Regions from separate parts of the Homo sapiens genome. Here region 2 is linked to region 1. The links are contacts of gene promoters, found by promoter capture Hi-C in blood cells and fetal thymus (Javierre and others, 2016). All regions are on one chromosome and are shown on one strand. Each heading gives the region's core, a stretch centred on a gene start or on the middle of the fragment in contact. The rest is flanking DNA. Distances are from core to core; before and after follow the strand shown.

Region 1 (6,963 bases), core at 1,898-4,397:
AAAACCCCAAACCATAAAAACCCTAGAAGAAAATCTAGGCAATACCATTCAGGACATAGGCATGGGCAAAGACTTCATGACTAAAACACCAAAAGCAATTGCAACAAAAGCCAAAATTGACAAATGGGATCTAATCCAACTAAAGAGCTTCTGCACAGCAAAAGAAACTATCATCAGAGTGAACAGGCAACCTACAGAATGGGAGAAAGTTTTGCAATCTACCCATCCGACAAAGGTCTAATGTCCAGAATCTACAAGGAACTTAGACAAATTTACAAGAAAAAAACAAACAACCCCATCAAAAAGTGGGCAAAGGATATGAACAGACACTTCTCAAAAGAAGACATTTATGCAGCCAATAAACATATGAAAAAAAGTTCATCATCATTGGTCATTAGAGAAATGCAAATCAAAACCACAGTGAGATACCACCTCACGCCAGTGAGAATGGTGATTATTAAAAAGTCAGGAAACAACAGATTCTGCCAAGGCTATGGAGAAATAGGAATGCTTTTACACTGTTGGTGGGAGTGTAAATTAGTTCAACCATTGTGGAAGACACTGTGGCGATTCCTCAAGGATCTAGAACCAAAATACCATTTGACCCAGCAATCCCATTACTGGGTATATACCCAAAGGATTATAAATCATTCTACTATAAAGACACATGCACATGTATGTTTATTGCAGTGCTATTTACAATAGCAAAGACTTGGAACCAACCCAAATGCCATCGATGATAGACTGGATAAAGACAATGTGGCACATATACACCATGGAATACTATGCAGCCATAAAAAAGAATGAGTTCATGTCATTTGCAGGGACATGGATGAAGCTGGGAGCCATCATTCTAAGCAAAGTAACACAACAGAAAACCAAACTCTGCATATTCTCACTTATAAGTGGGAGTTGAACGATGAGAACACATGGACACAGGGAGGGTAATATCACATACTGGGGCCTGTCGGGGCGTGGGGGAAAGGGGAGGGAGAGCATTAGGACAAATATCTAATGAATGCAGGGCTTAAAACCTAGATGACGGGTTGATAGATGCAGTAAACCACCATGTTTACTGTAACCACCATGTTACATAGGTATACATAGGCACATGTATACCTATGTAACAAACCTGCATGTTCTGCACATGTATCCCAGAACTTAAAGTTAAAAAAAAAATAGTAGGATTACTAAAAAAGCAGGATTACTGGCGGTTGGCAGAGGCCTTTTCTTGAGCTCAGGAATGGATGATGCCACTGAAAGAGCAGATGTGGAAATAAATTCTGGAAATGTTTCGCATACCACTTGTAATGCTGTTTTTAAGATAATTGCTTGGGTAAATAAATTCCTTATACATTGACTAGTAAAGAGATACTCAACTTTGTACATTTGATGCCATATTCACTTGCTGTCTAACTTATGTTACCATGGCATTAATTTAGTATAAATAAAAATGCTCTAGGTCTACTCAGTGCTGAGCCTTGAAATCTCAGCACTCAACATCTCTTATCCACTAAAGCACACACTGTTGTTTACACGTGGAAGACTGACTATGCAGCCAGTCTAGTAAGCAAGCAAGCAAGCAAGCAAGCAGGGTCCTAGATATTAAAAATGACCATTCCTGTAAACCATCAAGCCACAAATCAACAAGCTTAATCACAAAAGTTTCTTGAGGGAACAAAGTTGAAGTAATATCCATTGAGTCATTGTGGAACTATCTGTACTTGTGGTTGATTAGCCAGGTAAGCTGGTTTTTCCTCAGTTTCCTCACCTGTTAAACAAGAGGCAGAATGATGTTCTCTCTAAAACACTTCTTGCTTTGAAATACTATTACTCTAAATAAGACTTTGGAGAAACTCACAAAATACATCCTTGTTAACTCTCAATAAGCCCAAACAATATTCCAGGACCCCACAAAACCAGAAAACTAACAGGACCCCTTGTAGACCAGTCTCTTTGTGCAACGTAGGGAGAAAGGGCGGGGGGGACTAAAGAACCTCCCAAAAGGTATTAAAAATAGCAACATGTAATTATGAAAAATCTTGTTCCACATTAGGTAGCCACATTCAAGAAAAACTGTTGGAGATCTACTATGTCCAAGGCACGGTTTAAGTTATTACTGTTCAATTTTGAAATTATTATTGTTAACTTGTCAGTAATTTCTTAAACCTAAACTGGTGAAACTCTCCTTGGGTGGACATAAAAGTAAAGCCATGGCCAAGGAGGGAGACAGTCTACAAATAAACCAAAAATAAAATACAAGTGACATCATTAAAGGAAAAAAGCCAACACACTGCACAAAGATCAAAGACAAAACAGAGAAACATGTTTGGTTAATACTGGGCTTTGAGTATTTCATGTGCCTGAGAGGCCCGTCCGTCCATCCACACCACACTTCTTCACCATGCTGTTGCAAACCAATGACAAGTTCAGCTTCAGCGCGGACAGGGCGCAGGGCGCAGACCCTGTGCATATCCCAGAATCCCGGACCCACTGCCACTCCACTCTGGGAAGGAAGAAGGCGCTCCCCCTTGGGTGACTGTAAGATAAAGCAGCTTCTTCGATCTCTTTGTCCAATAAGAAAGAAACGTTGGCCCATAAAGAAAGAAAGAAACAAATAAATAGGAAAGGTGTGAGAAGGAAGGGAAGCTCCTTTCTTTTCTGTTTAAATTTCCCGCACCCTTTTACCTCCCCGCCTTCTCAAACGGTCTTTACTTTGAGCAGCAGAGACCCGGACCGCTCAATACCCGGCTATCCCTGGGAGGGTACTTGGAAAGTAGGCGGGACAGGCCGGATGAATAATTCGGTGTCCGACTTTTCCTGCCTGCGGCGCAGTCCCTCCCCGGCTTCGTTACTCGAGTGCACACGCGGCCGGGCTCTCGGCCCTCGATTGCTTCAGCCTATCACCCTGGGATGCCGCCTGCCGCTGCCGCCGCCGCCGCCGCCGCCACCGCCACCGCCACCGCCACCGCCACCGCCGTGGCTGCCGGGTTTGTGGGATCCGCCGCGGAGCAGGAGCCAGAGCTGTGGCCGGAGCTGTGGCCTGAGAGTCAGGGGGCGGGCAGGCTCATTCCAGAAGTGGGGGCCGAGGACAGGCGGGCTAGAACCCGGGGCCACCGCCCCCTACCCCTCCTCAGGCTGAGGGAACGGGCACTCGGAGCTTCTGAGGCGGCGGCGGCGGGAGCCGGTCAGAGGGGGCGGCCCCTGGCGGCGACGCCCCCAAGCCCAGCCCTGCCCGGCCCCGCTCCATCCCCAGCCAGAGCCTGGTCTGACCGCGAGAGACGCCGGCGGGGCTGAAGAAGGCGGCTCCGAGGAGGTGGGAGGGCGAGCCTCCCCTCCCGGGTTCTTCTGCGTCCTCTCCCGGGAGGGACCCACACACACCTGAGCCCGGACCCACCCTTGGTCGGGGCCACGCTGGATCCTCCTCCCGGCCTGGGTCCCGCCCGCCGACTGCAGGTGGGCTGCATCGCCCGAGCCTCGGGCAGTGGGCGACGGGGAAGGAGGTGAGAGGTGTCCGCGCCGGCTGCCGCTCGGGTCCCTGCCCTCGCTGCGCGCTCTCCTCCTCCCCTTACCGCAGGCAGGGCGCGGAGCCGCGCGCCAGCCCGCCCCGAAGCCGCCGCCTCGTCCCCCTCCCGCCTCGGGGCACCATGGAGCTCTCTCCGTCGTCCGGAGGAGCCGCGGAGGCGCTGTCCTGGCCGGAGATGTTCCCGGCGCTGGAGTCCGACTCGCCGCTGCCCCCGGAGGACCTGGACGCGGTTGTCCCAGTCAGTGGAGCCGTCGCCGGTGGCATGTTGGATCGGATCCTTCTGGAGTCCGTGTGCCAGCAACAGAGCTGGGTCCGGGTGTACGGTAAGGACCACAGGCCGTCTTAGAGGCTGGTGTTTCCTATTTTTGCTTGGGCTGAAATTCATTCCCTAAGTCACAGGCTCATTCCCAGTCCTCATCCGTGCTAGGTCAGTTTCCCACATCCCTTTTTGTTCTGGGGGTGCATTTCTGACAAGTTTCTTCAGACTATCACTTGGGCAGGGATGTCACTCAGTATGGTCTTTGGACCTCTTCAGACACCTGCAGTAAGTTTAATGCGGGAGTTGGGCTATCCAAGACGTAATTCTTAGGCGATTACTTCAAGGGAACAGCCAGGCAATCAATCTTCAAGAAGGTATGATGGAAAAACTCCATGAAACCAAGTGAATGGATTTTCGTCTCTTTTTATTGTTGAATGAGGCAAGACTGGAAACCAAGATATTATGAAAAAGCAGAGGATAAGCTAATGAATGAAAAAAATGCAAACTATGTATTTGGTGGGAGCAAGACTAATCTATAACCTCTGCCTGAACCTCACTCTCTCTAAAAGCAACCACTTATTCCAACGGGTGTGGATTGTTTCAGATTACACTATTGTTTCTGAATCTCGTTGTAAAGTGACTGGGTTGCCACTCAGCAGGTTAAAAGTGATGAACACACTAAAACTTTCCCTTTCTGCATTCCTGGTAACCACCTCTTTAATTAAAACTGAATGATGAGATTCTATTAGGGTGAGCCTTGTGGCAGCACTAAAACCATGCTGGTTTTGAAAACTCATAGCTTAAGGATTTATAGCCTGGCATTCAGGACTGAGCTGTGGCTTTCCAAAATATTGAAACGGCAAGATGTTTATCGCCTAGCTCACGTGACTGCAGAAGACATTAGTAACGTGGCTGAGTATAAGATGGCAAATTTGAAGCACCTGGGATCAAACACAATGTTAAGATGTTATCCTGCAGTCTTGTGCATCTAAGCCTGTAGTGATCAAGTACCTTATGTTTTTTTCTTTCATCTTTCTGAACAGGGTATATGCTTACTATTCAAGAGTGACCAAGACTTAGGTTTTTTTCTGTGTAGTTCAGTTGATTTGAAGACTTAATGTCCATCGCAAAGATCATAGAACTAGGAGTCCAGAGATCTCAGTTCTTGTCTCAGTTCTACCACTAAATGGCTATGGGATTTGGGGCAGATCGAGTCACATTTTTGGCTTGTGATTCCTCATCTGTAAAGTGAGTGGATTGGATTAAATCATCACTAGTGACCCTTTTAATCATAAAAATCCAGGAATTCTTCTTATAACCAGTTCTTAAGGATTTGTGTACCACTTTGTATTTTGCTGGCTGTTTCTTGATGTTACTCTACGTACCGGAAGATTTAAAGCAAAGGAGTGGGAGACGATGCAAGGTCACCCAGTTTGTTCTCAGCAAATTAGATTAAAAACTTTGGTGCCTGATTTTCCGTCTGCCTGCTAAATCCCACTTAGCTGGTCATTTAGAACAAAGGTTGGTGAGAATCTGAAAGTGCATATGAATTAGAGTATATTGTAGTTACAACGTTTTCCCATTCTATCATCTTTCTCTCCTTACACACTTCTTTGGCATACTGTTTATTTGTGTGATGTTAGAAATAGGGCCATGCTATTCTAAGAATACATGTATATGATAATTCGGTATTTCAGTATCCAAAACAATCTGGGTTCTCTGGACCTAGTGTTAACTATCGTTCTTCATTTGTAAGGACATAAAAGTCTACAAATGTATGTTGTTTTGTAGTCCATTCCTAGGGGTTGATTTGTGAAATATATATTGTATATTTTGTGTGTGTGTGTGTGTGTGTGTAAGAGAGAGAGAGAGTGAGAGCAAGTTTACATTATGTTTTTTTTCTTTCGTCCTTCTGAACAGGATATATGTTTATTGTTCAAGAGTGACCACGACTTAGAAGTTTTCTTTCTGCGTGGTTCAATTGATGTCAAGACTTCATATCAGACATCACAGAAATGCATGGTATGTATATGTGTGTGACACACACATATACATACCATGCCTTGCATTTTTGTGACCAATTGCAGACTTACCACTGCATTGTAACTTTTTTTGTTTTCTCTATCAATTAACCAGAAGTTGTTTTTATTTATTGTTTAGTATTGCTACTTTCCTTCCTCTGAGGCAGCTCATCCTGGATACTATTTTGTTGTCTTTAGTTTATGTAAATATTTCAGAACTATTGGAATGACTCTTGGCTATGTCCTTAGCTAGTTTTAAGTTGCCTATTGTATGAACAGGGTGTATGTTTGAAAACTTTGAAGTAAAAACTTTGAAATAAAAGTAATAGAATGTAGAAAAACAATTTGGAGAATACAGAATTTTTGTTTTTCTTGTTTCTTGTCTGTGTGTTCAAAACCTTCGTTGTCTTGGATCACCTAGGTTCTTCTCACAATTTAAAGAGACTTTGATGAGTGTAGTCTAACATGTTTCAGGGAAATCTACAAATTGGGAACCTAGTCTAGAGGATACAACTAGAAGCTTAGAGTATTGGTTTCATTCTGGCTTTGCCACAAGTTGGTTGTCTAATTCTGGGCAGGTAGTTTTAACTCATGGCCTCTAGGTTTCAGCATAAAAGTGGAATCTGGAGTAATTGGTATCTGTGGTCCCTTTTAGCTTTAAAGTTGTCTGATTCTGTGGCTTGGCCCATTATTTTACCTGCAGGTTGGCCTATAATCTTTATCCTGGCTCTTGGGGCCAGGCATTAACCAAGCCCTTAACTTAATGCATTTAAATCATGATTGTCAGGGAATTCTGGGGAGCAGTTTTATCAAAAGGTCAGTGAACTGAGTTTTCAAAGAAGATATATTGAAGGCAGATGTTTATTTATTTGGAATGTTTTCACAAGATAGGAAGATGAGTATGGCGATGTTGCTTAGGTCTAGTTCATCCAGTTTTGAGACCTAACCTACATAGCCATGTGGGTTCTAAAGGTAGGATAATAATAAGGAACTTTATTAAGTGCAATTTGCATCTCCTGCAATATACTTCTGTTTGAAATCATGATGGGAACAAACAACAACAGAAGTAACCCCCCAAAGAATATCTTAACAGGAACTTCTAGAAACAATATTTTATTAGTTTGCCTCACAAAATTTGAAGACTAGGCACTGTTTTG
Region 2 (7,419 bases), core at 2,960-5,459, 1.2 Mb after region 1:
ATGTAGGTATTATAAGACACGGTCAATGAGAGTTTTTTAGAAAACAATCAGGATTTAAAAATGAGTTTGAATTTCTAGGCAATAAACTAGTCAGTGCCTACACGTTAGCTAATTCTGTTCTTGCCACAAGTAGATGAAGAAAACATTTATTAAAAGAACTGCAACTTGAAAATTGGTTATTAGTCACTGCTTAGTATTCCTTAGTCATCTTTATGAGTGTAATCACATAGGTTGGCTGTCCTTTTTTTTTCTTCAATGCTGCATGACTAGGGGTCAGGAGACAAGGATTTCTTCAGGCTCAGTTACTTATTGGCCATGTGACAGTGTACAAGATGTTCAATTTCTTTGAATCTCAGTTTCTTTATTTTAAAAATAGAAATGAGGCCAGATGTGGTGGCTCACGCTTATAATCCATGCACTTTGAGTAGCTGAGGTGGAAGGATTGCTTGAGACCGGGAATTCAAGACCAGTCTGGGCAACATATCAAGACCCCATCTTTACAAAAGTAAAAAAAGTTAGGTGGGCATGGTAACATGTGCCTGTAGCCGAAGCTACTCAGGAGGCTGAGGTGGGAGGATTGCTTGAGCCCAGGAGTTAGAGGTCGCAGTGAGCTAGGATTGCACCACTGCACTCCAACCTGGGTGACAGAGCAAGACTATATGTTAAAATTTGTAACAAGTTTAACAAGGATGCGGATTTAGAAATTTGGAGGCCATAATGTCTTCAGGGAAAAGAAGAGTTGCAGAAATGGGTGGAAACTATTGGCTAGCAAGAAAACAAAGATAAGAAGTGTAAAATTCTTTCTCAGAACATTTTATATTAGAAGGAAAAGTACAGCATGTCATGAGGGTTAAGTGATCTTCAAAAGGACTGTTTTTAAAAAAAAAATCGTTTCTAAATTTCAGTTATTTTGCCATTATATTACTATTACTATGTAACTTTAAAAAATTCACTTGAAAATTTATTCTCAACCTAAGTAATAAATTGTTAAATCATAGGTTTGATGTTCAATTACTTATTTTTAAAAAACAAATTAAATATATAATAACTTGATAAGTGTTAGTAGAACTACAGATTTTATTTTCAGTATCACTGATGACATCCATATCATAATTTCTGAAACATGATTTTTAAAGAACAAATTGTCTCTGAATTTAAATGTGGACAATATAATTGACTCAGTGGGTTGAACTTTTTGAATAGGGAATGATTAAGACAATAATAGTTTGAAGGGTTAGTCTTGAAAAAGAGATGGGCTACTCTTTCCTCTGACACAGAAATGTTGGAGAAGAGGTTGAAAGACAGCAAAAATTAAGAAACATAGAAGACATTTAAGGATTTGGTACCAAAACTGAACAACTAAAAGTTACTTGGTGGGGCTGGGACTTGAAAGTGGAAAAGGTTTCCAACTACTTTTGTGAGGAATGTCACAGAAATTCATCAAGAGGCAGAGACAAAGATTGCATATTTTCATTGCTGGCCTGCCTAAGGCTTGACTGCAGCAGTTTAGAATGGGCCTATTTTCCTAACTTTTTCTGTAGCGCATGGCAATTTGGAATCAGAAGGCAGATAGCGGGTAATTTCTGGAGTCGGCGTGTGGCATGGTGGGTCCAGGAAATTGGTGGTGGTGATAAGGGACAGATAGAAATAATGACAGAGGGTTAGTAAGTCCGTGCTGGTTAAGAAAACTGGAAAACCAAAATGATGACTTCTATCAGAAGAGAAACTGTCTCTTTCCCTGTCTTTCTCTTTAGCGATGAAACCTTCGCTAGAAATTCCCCTACAGACTTCTCGTGTCTCATTGGCCAGAGTTAGATTACAAGTTATGCTGGCTATCTACCTTTTGCCTCTCCAGTCTTTTCTACGCTACTTTGTTTCCTGGGAGACTGACGTTAAGAACTGCAACAATAGTCTCCAGTGCCCTGTGTGTTTCTGGTAGGCTTGGCCAGTGGGAGAACTTCAGGAGATCTAAGAGCAGAGAGTAAGGTGGGTGTATTTATAACTAAGGTTCTCTCCCTGGTAGGTAACCATTGCTCCTTTCTAATATTTCTCTCTAAAGAGTTCTCTCTGGGTTCCACTAACCCTTTACCCGCTTTGCCCTTTCTGGCCTCAGGATGGTAACAGCTTTCCTGATGTTTATTACTAGCCCTAGAATTCCATATCATCCTTATTACCATCCTTTGTTGCTTTTCTTAAACTCTGACCACACACTAGAAAAAGGACCTCTTTAAATTTTTCCCAGTCAATAAGCTTGAGTGGGTCATCTCTTTGCTGTCTGATACTCAGGTCCATTTTTAAATCAGTTTCTCGCAAAGGCAGTGACATGCATGTCCTTATTTGGGAAGCAACCGGCAGTGTTCACCATGGCTGTGTTACATTATAAAAAATAATGTGTGTGTACTTGTCTGTTTTATTTGCCAACCAGATTTACAGTAAACTTGGCCATCTAGAACAAAGTTGGCAAACGTGGCCGTGTTCATTCTTTTGTGTTTGTAGTGCTTTCTCCTGTTATCACAGTAGAGTTGAGTAGTTGTTACATAGTTGCAGACTATACTGCCCATTACGGAAAAAGCTTTCTGACTCTTGATCTAGAATTACGTTGTTCAATATGGTTGCCACTAGAAGTACACTGTTTAATGTAGTCTGGTTGAGCACTTGAAATGTGGCTAGTCTGGATTGAGAAACACTATAGTTATGATATGTCAGATTTCAGAGACTTACTGGCACCCATTTCTTTTTACTTTTTAATGTGGCTCCTAAAAATTTTAAAATTACACATGGTGATTCACATTTTATGTGTATGTCTGTGTATATATGTGTATATATATATGTATATGTGTGTATATATGTGTATATATATATGTATATGTGTGTATATATATGTATATATATATTTTTTTTAGACAGAGTTTTGCTTTTGTTGCCCAGGCTGGAGTGCAATGGTGCTATCTCTGCTCACCGCAACCTCCGCCTCCCAGGTCCAAGCGATTCTCTTGCCTCACCCTCCCAGGTAGCTGGGATTATAGGCATGCGCCACCACGCCTGGCTAATTTTGTATTTTTAGTAGAGACGGGGTTTCCCCATGTTGGTCAGGCTGGTCTCGAACTCCTGACCTCCGGTGATCTGCCTGCCTCGGCCTCCCAAAGTACTGGGATTACAGGTGTGAGCCACCGTGCCTGGCCACACATTGTATGTTTATAGGACGACACTGATCAGGAATGTAACTGGTGGCCTAGAAAGTAAGTAGATAAGCTTCCCTTAGGCCAAAGCCTATTAAATACAATATTGTCAAGAAAAGAGAGCATGGCATTAAGAGGCATCTGACTGAGCTTCAGGCCTCAGAAAAATCCAACAAGTCTTCATGCTTCATTCCTTTGCCTGGAATAATGTTTCTAGCATTTGTTCACCATAATTTTTCTTTATTATTTGAGACTCAGTTCAAATATTGACTCCTGCAAAAGCCTCCTACACCCCTCATTCTCCCACAGCGCTCCTCTGTATTGTCCTTTTCCCTATTTGTAGTTTTCTCCTGAGATCCTGAAGGGAGGGTTTGCCCTGCATGTATTGGGTCCTCAGTGGGCTTTTACTTAATGCATGAGTATATAAATTGAGTAAATTAGTTACCAATTTAACAAGCCTGGTTATTTGTCTCTTTTCTTCTGTGTAGCTTTGGCGGTAGATTGACTATAGTAATAGAAGTGTACGATTGTTAGGGAGAACCCTGTGGAAGCAGCCTAGGTAGAAAGGCACAGCTCCCCAGGACTGCTGAGTGGGGCCTGATTGCACTCCACATTTCCGTTTTTGCTAAAGATATCACTATAATAGTATGGTACAACAATGGATCTCTCTTACTTGTTCCGAAGATTATGTAGGGTAAAGTACATTTTTGTTTTATTTTTTTGTAGAGAATGGGGGGGTCTCACTTTGTTGCTCAGGCTGGTCTCAAACTCCTGGCTTCAAGTGACCCTCCTGTCTCAGCCTCACAAAGTGCTGGGATGATAATAGGCGTGAGCCAGCACGCCTGGAGTCTGGTGTTTTTTTTAGGGTAGCAAAGCATGTCATAATTTTACAAAAATTTTCATCAAAACTGGTTAAAATAAGATTTTTGACATGTCAAGGAATAAATTTTAAACATTCCCATTAAGTATAGCAGGTTTTAAAAGAGATAGCATTTATTCATGAAGATAAGTATTGCAAGCCTGATTTTTTTAGAAATCAGAAATTTAAGGGAAAAAATGTTGAATAGTTTTCCTTATGGACTTATGCGGGGTTCTATTAAGTTTCAGATAGCAAATAACTGACTCCTAGTGTTAGCAGTTAGTGTGTTACTAGAGGGAGGCAAATGATTCCGAAATTACATCACCCTCAGTCCTGGCTTATCATTGTTTCAGGGTCAGTGTTTTAGAAATTGAGAAGCCTTGAGTTGAGTGCTTGTAAATAGTTCTTCAAATCATTGGATGTGGGTGGGGATGGTGGCTCATCCTTGTAATCCCAACAGTTTCAGAGGCCAAGGCATGAGGATTGCTGGAGGCCAGGAGTTCAAGACCAGCCTGGGCAACATAGCGAGGCTCTGCCTTTACAAAAAAATTTTTTTTAATTAGGTGGGTGTGGTGGCATGTGAGTGTGGTGGCATGTGCCTGTAGTCCTAGGTACTTGGGAGGCTGAGGCGGGAGGATCCCTTGAGCCTAGGAGTTCCAGGCCACAGTGAGCTATGATCATGCCATAGCCACTGCCCCCTAGCCTGAGCAACAGAGTGAGAACCTGTCTTAAAAAAAAAAAAGCAGTGGATATTAGCTTTTAGGCATTCTTTTGACTTTGACATCTAATTTTTAAATTTTAAATTGTAGAAAGTTAAGAATTTCTTTGTAATATTGTATGAAGAGGTATTTTGAAGGTAAAGGAAAATGAATTAGCATTTTAAAATATATTTTTCTTCCACTTACTTAACTTTGTCATTTTCAGTGGGGTCTTCAGAGACTCTGTGAACAAATCTTTTTTCTAACTTTCCAGTGGCTGCATCTCAAAGCCTGTTTGTAATGATGGCTGTCGTGTTATTTATGGATAGACAGATTCTTTTTGGAAGGGATGCACAAGTAGTGAGAATTAATCTTTTACAGTCTCCTTACCAATCCTCCTCTCCCATGGTAGCTGAATTAGTTGAAGGAAAGAAGCTTTTGTCTTCATTTTTTTATGAAATAGTTCATTTATGAAACCATGGTCTGGTCATAGAACTAAATTAAAAATATATTCTTTAACTTATTGAAAAATCAAATGGACATTTGTCTTACCCTTATATTTCTTAATCAGTTACCAATTTGTAAATATCTTAAATTAATCCTCTGCTCTCCATTCTCCTTGCCATTTACAACATCACTTTTTGTCCGGATTTATTGCATTTCTCTGTTATGTGGTCCTTTCCATCTTCCAATATCAGCTCAGTATTTTCCTGCATAAAATTCTTAGTTTCCTCAAAGCCCTTGTTATTATATGACCTAGCCTTCTTCCCAGTCATCAATTCTGCCATTATCGATAATTGAAGACATTCCACTGTCTCCTGGCTTCCATTGATGTTAAGTCAGGTATGCGTTGTAATTGCAGTACTTGCGTAGTTGATATTCTTTCTGGGTGCTTTTAGTTTTTTTTTTTAACCCCTGCGTCAGACAGTTTCACTGTGATATATCTAAGTCGATTATTATTATTATTTTTTCTTTTGAGATGGAGTTTCACTCTTGTTGCCCAGGCTGGAGTGCAATGGTATGATCTCGGCTCACCGCAACCTCCACCTCCCGGGTTCAAGCGATACTCCTGCCTTAGCCTCTTGAGTAGCTGGGATTACAGGCATGTGCCACCACGCCAGCTAATTTTGTATTTTTAGTAGACAGGGCTTCTCCATGTTGGTCAGGCTGGTCTCAAACTGCCGACCTCAGGTGATCCACCTGCCTTGGCTTCCCACAGTGCTGGGATTACAGGCGTGAGCCACCACGCCTGGCACTAAGTAGATTATTTATCCTGCTTGGAATTCTTTGACTTTATCCTAGAATTTGTGTCTCTCAACAGTTCTGGCCAATTCTCAGCTATAATCACCTCAAATATTATCTCTCTGTATAGAGCTCTGATTAGATGCATTTTGTACCTTCTCATTCTTCATGTCTTTCTTCCAAGTGACATACTGTGAAAAGAAATGTCCAATAGAAGATTAAATTATATTTCTACCATAAAAACAGAGTAATAGGGCAGTGAAAATAATATACAAGAATATGTAATGACAGAGAAAAATGTTTACAATATATTAAGTGAAAAAAACAGGTTATAAAGCAGTATGTGTATGAGTTTGTTTTTATGTTTTTATGGTTTGTTTTTAAGGGAAGGGGTTATTAAGCTTAAATTACCCCAAATATGCCTCCAAAGTTCATTTTGGCAAAGTAAATATTTCTGTTCAGTGTATTTTTTCTGGGAAATTACTTTTATAAATTTGAATGGCTTTTAATCTTCCTTTTTAGGCAAAATATACAATAGCAATTGTCAATGCTGAAATAAAAATACTTAAGCTGGCCTGGCGCGGTGGCTCACGCCTATAATCCTAGCACTTTGGAAGGCCGAGGCGGGCGGATCACGAGGTCAGGAGATCGAGACCATCCTGGCTAACACAGTGAAACCCTGTCTCTAGTAAAAATACAAAAAATTAGCCGGGCGTGGTGGCGGGCGCCTGTAGTCCCAGCTACTTGGGATGCTGAGGCAGGAGAATGGTGTGAACCCAGGAGGCGGAGCTTGCAGTGAGCCGAGATCGCGCCACTACCCTCCAGCCTGGGTGACAGAGCGAGACTCCGTCTCAAAAAAAAAAAAAAAAATACTTAAGCTATTACCATGTAGAGTAAATAAGAAAATACAAATTCTCAATTTTAAAAATTCATCTGCCAAAGTGATAGTTCATCATCATAGGTTTTTTTTTTTTTTTAACGAAGATAGCAAACTAGACGTTGTGGTTTTCTGTTTCACAGTTTTCAGTATTCATTCCATTCTGTTTCATTCACTTATCTGTGTAGGTCTGTGCACATAATGACGTCTGATGTTTCTCGGTTCCCATAATATAACAGATGACTTGACACTTTATTAAAAGGATAGAATAAAGATATTTAGTATCTCATTATTCACAAACTCATTTGTGAATAATGGCAGATGGCATTCAAAATTAACTCTACCCTGGGCTAAGCATGGTGACACATGCCTATAATCTCAGCATTTTGGGAGGCTGAGGCAGGAGGATTGTTTGAGGCCAGGAGTTAAGTCAAGCCCAGCCAGGGCAACATAGTGAGACCTTGTCTCTACAAAACACTTAAAAAAAAATTAGCTGGGTGTGGTGGCACACATCTATGGTCCCAGCTAGCGGGGCGGCTGATGCAGGAGGATCACTTGAGATCA

What was found. Contacts are between HindIII fragments. The CHiCAGO score rates a contact against its expected background, and 5 or more counts as called.
Region 2: a fragment that was not itself captured here is called in contact with the fragment with the promoter of RASAL2-AS1 in region 1 in 1 of 17 cell types (M0 macrophages); the score reaches 6.4 in M0 macrophages.

What each region holds. Positions count from the first base shown.
Region 1 is chr1:178,090,846-178,097,808 of GRCh38, forward strand. It overlaps RASAL2-AS1 (RASAL2 antisense RNA 1), which reads right to left and starts at 3,148. Exons shown (of 2, transcript NR_027982.1): 1 at 2,716-3,148; 2 at 663-2,567. RASAL2 (RAS protein activator like 2) reads left to right here and starts at 3,259. Exons shown (of 18, transcript NM_170692.4): 1 at 3,259-3,849. The coding sequence starts at 3,648. RefSeq lists an enhancer at 2,735-3,236 and silencers at 2,858-2,907, 2,958-3,257, 3,328-3,487, 3,638-3,697. The HindIII fragment of the contact is 4,675 bases long and covers 1,650-6,324 here.
Region 2 is chr1:179,310,702-179,318,120 of GRCh38, forward strand. All of the region lies in intron 2 of SOAT1 (sterol O-acyltransferase 1), which reads left to right. Among named protein-coding and RNA genes, the nearest start is that of SOAT1, 21 kb to the left of the region's middle. The HindIII fragment of the contact is 1,919 bases long and covers 3,251-5,169 here.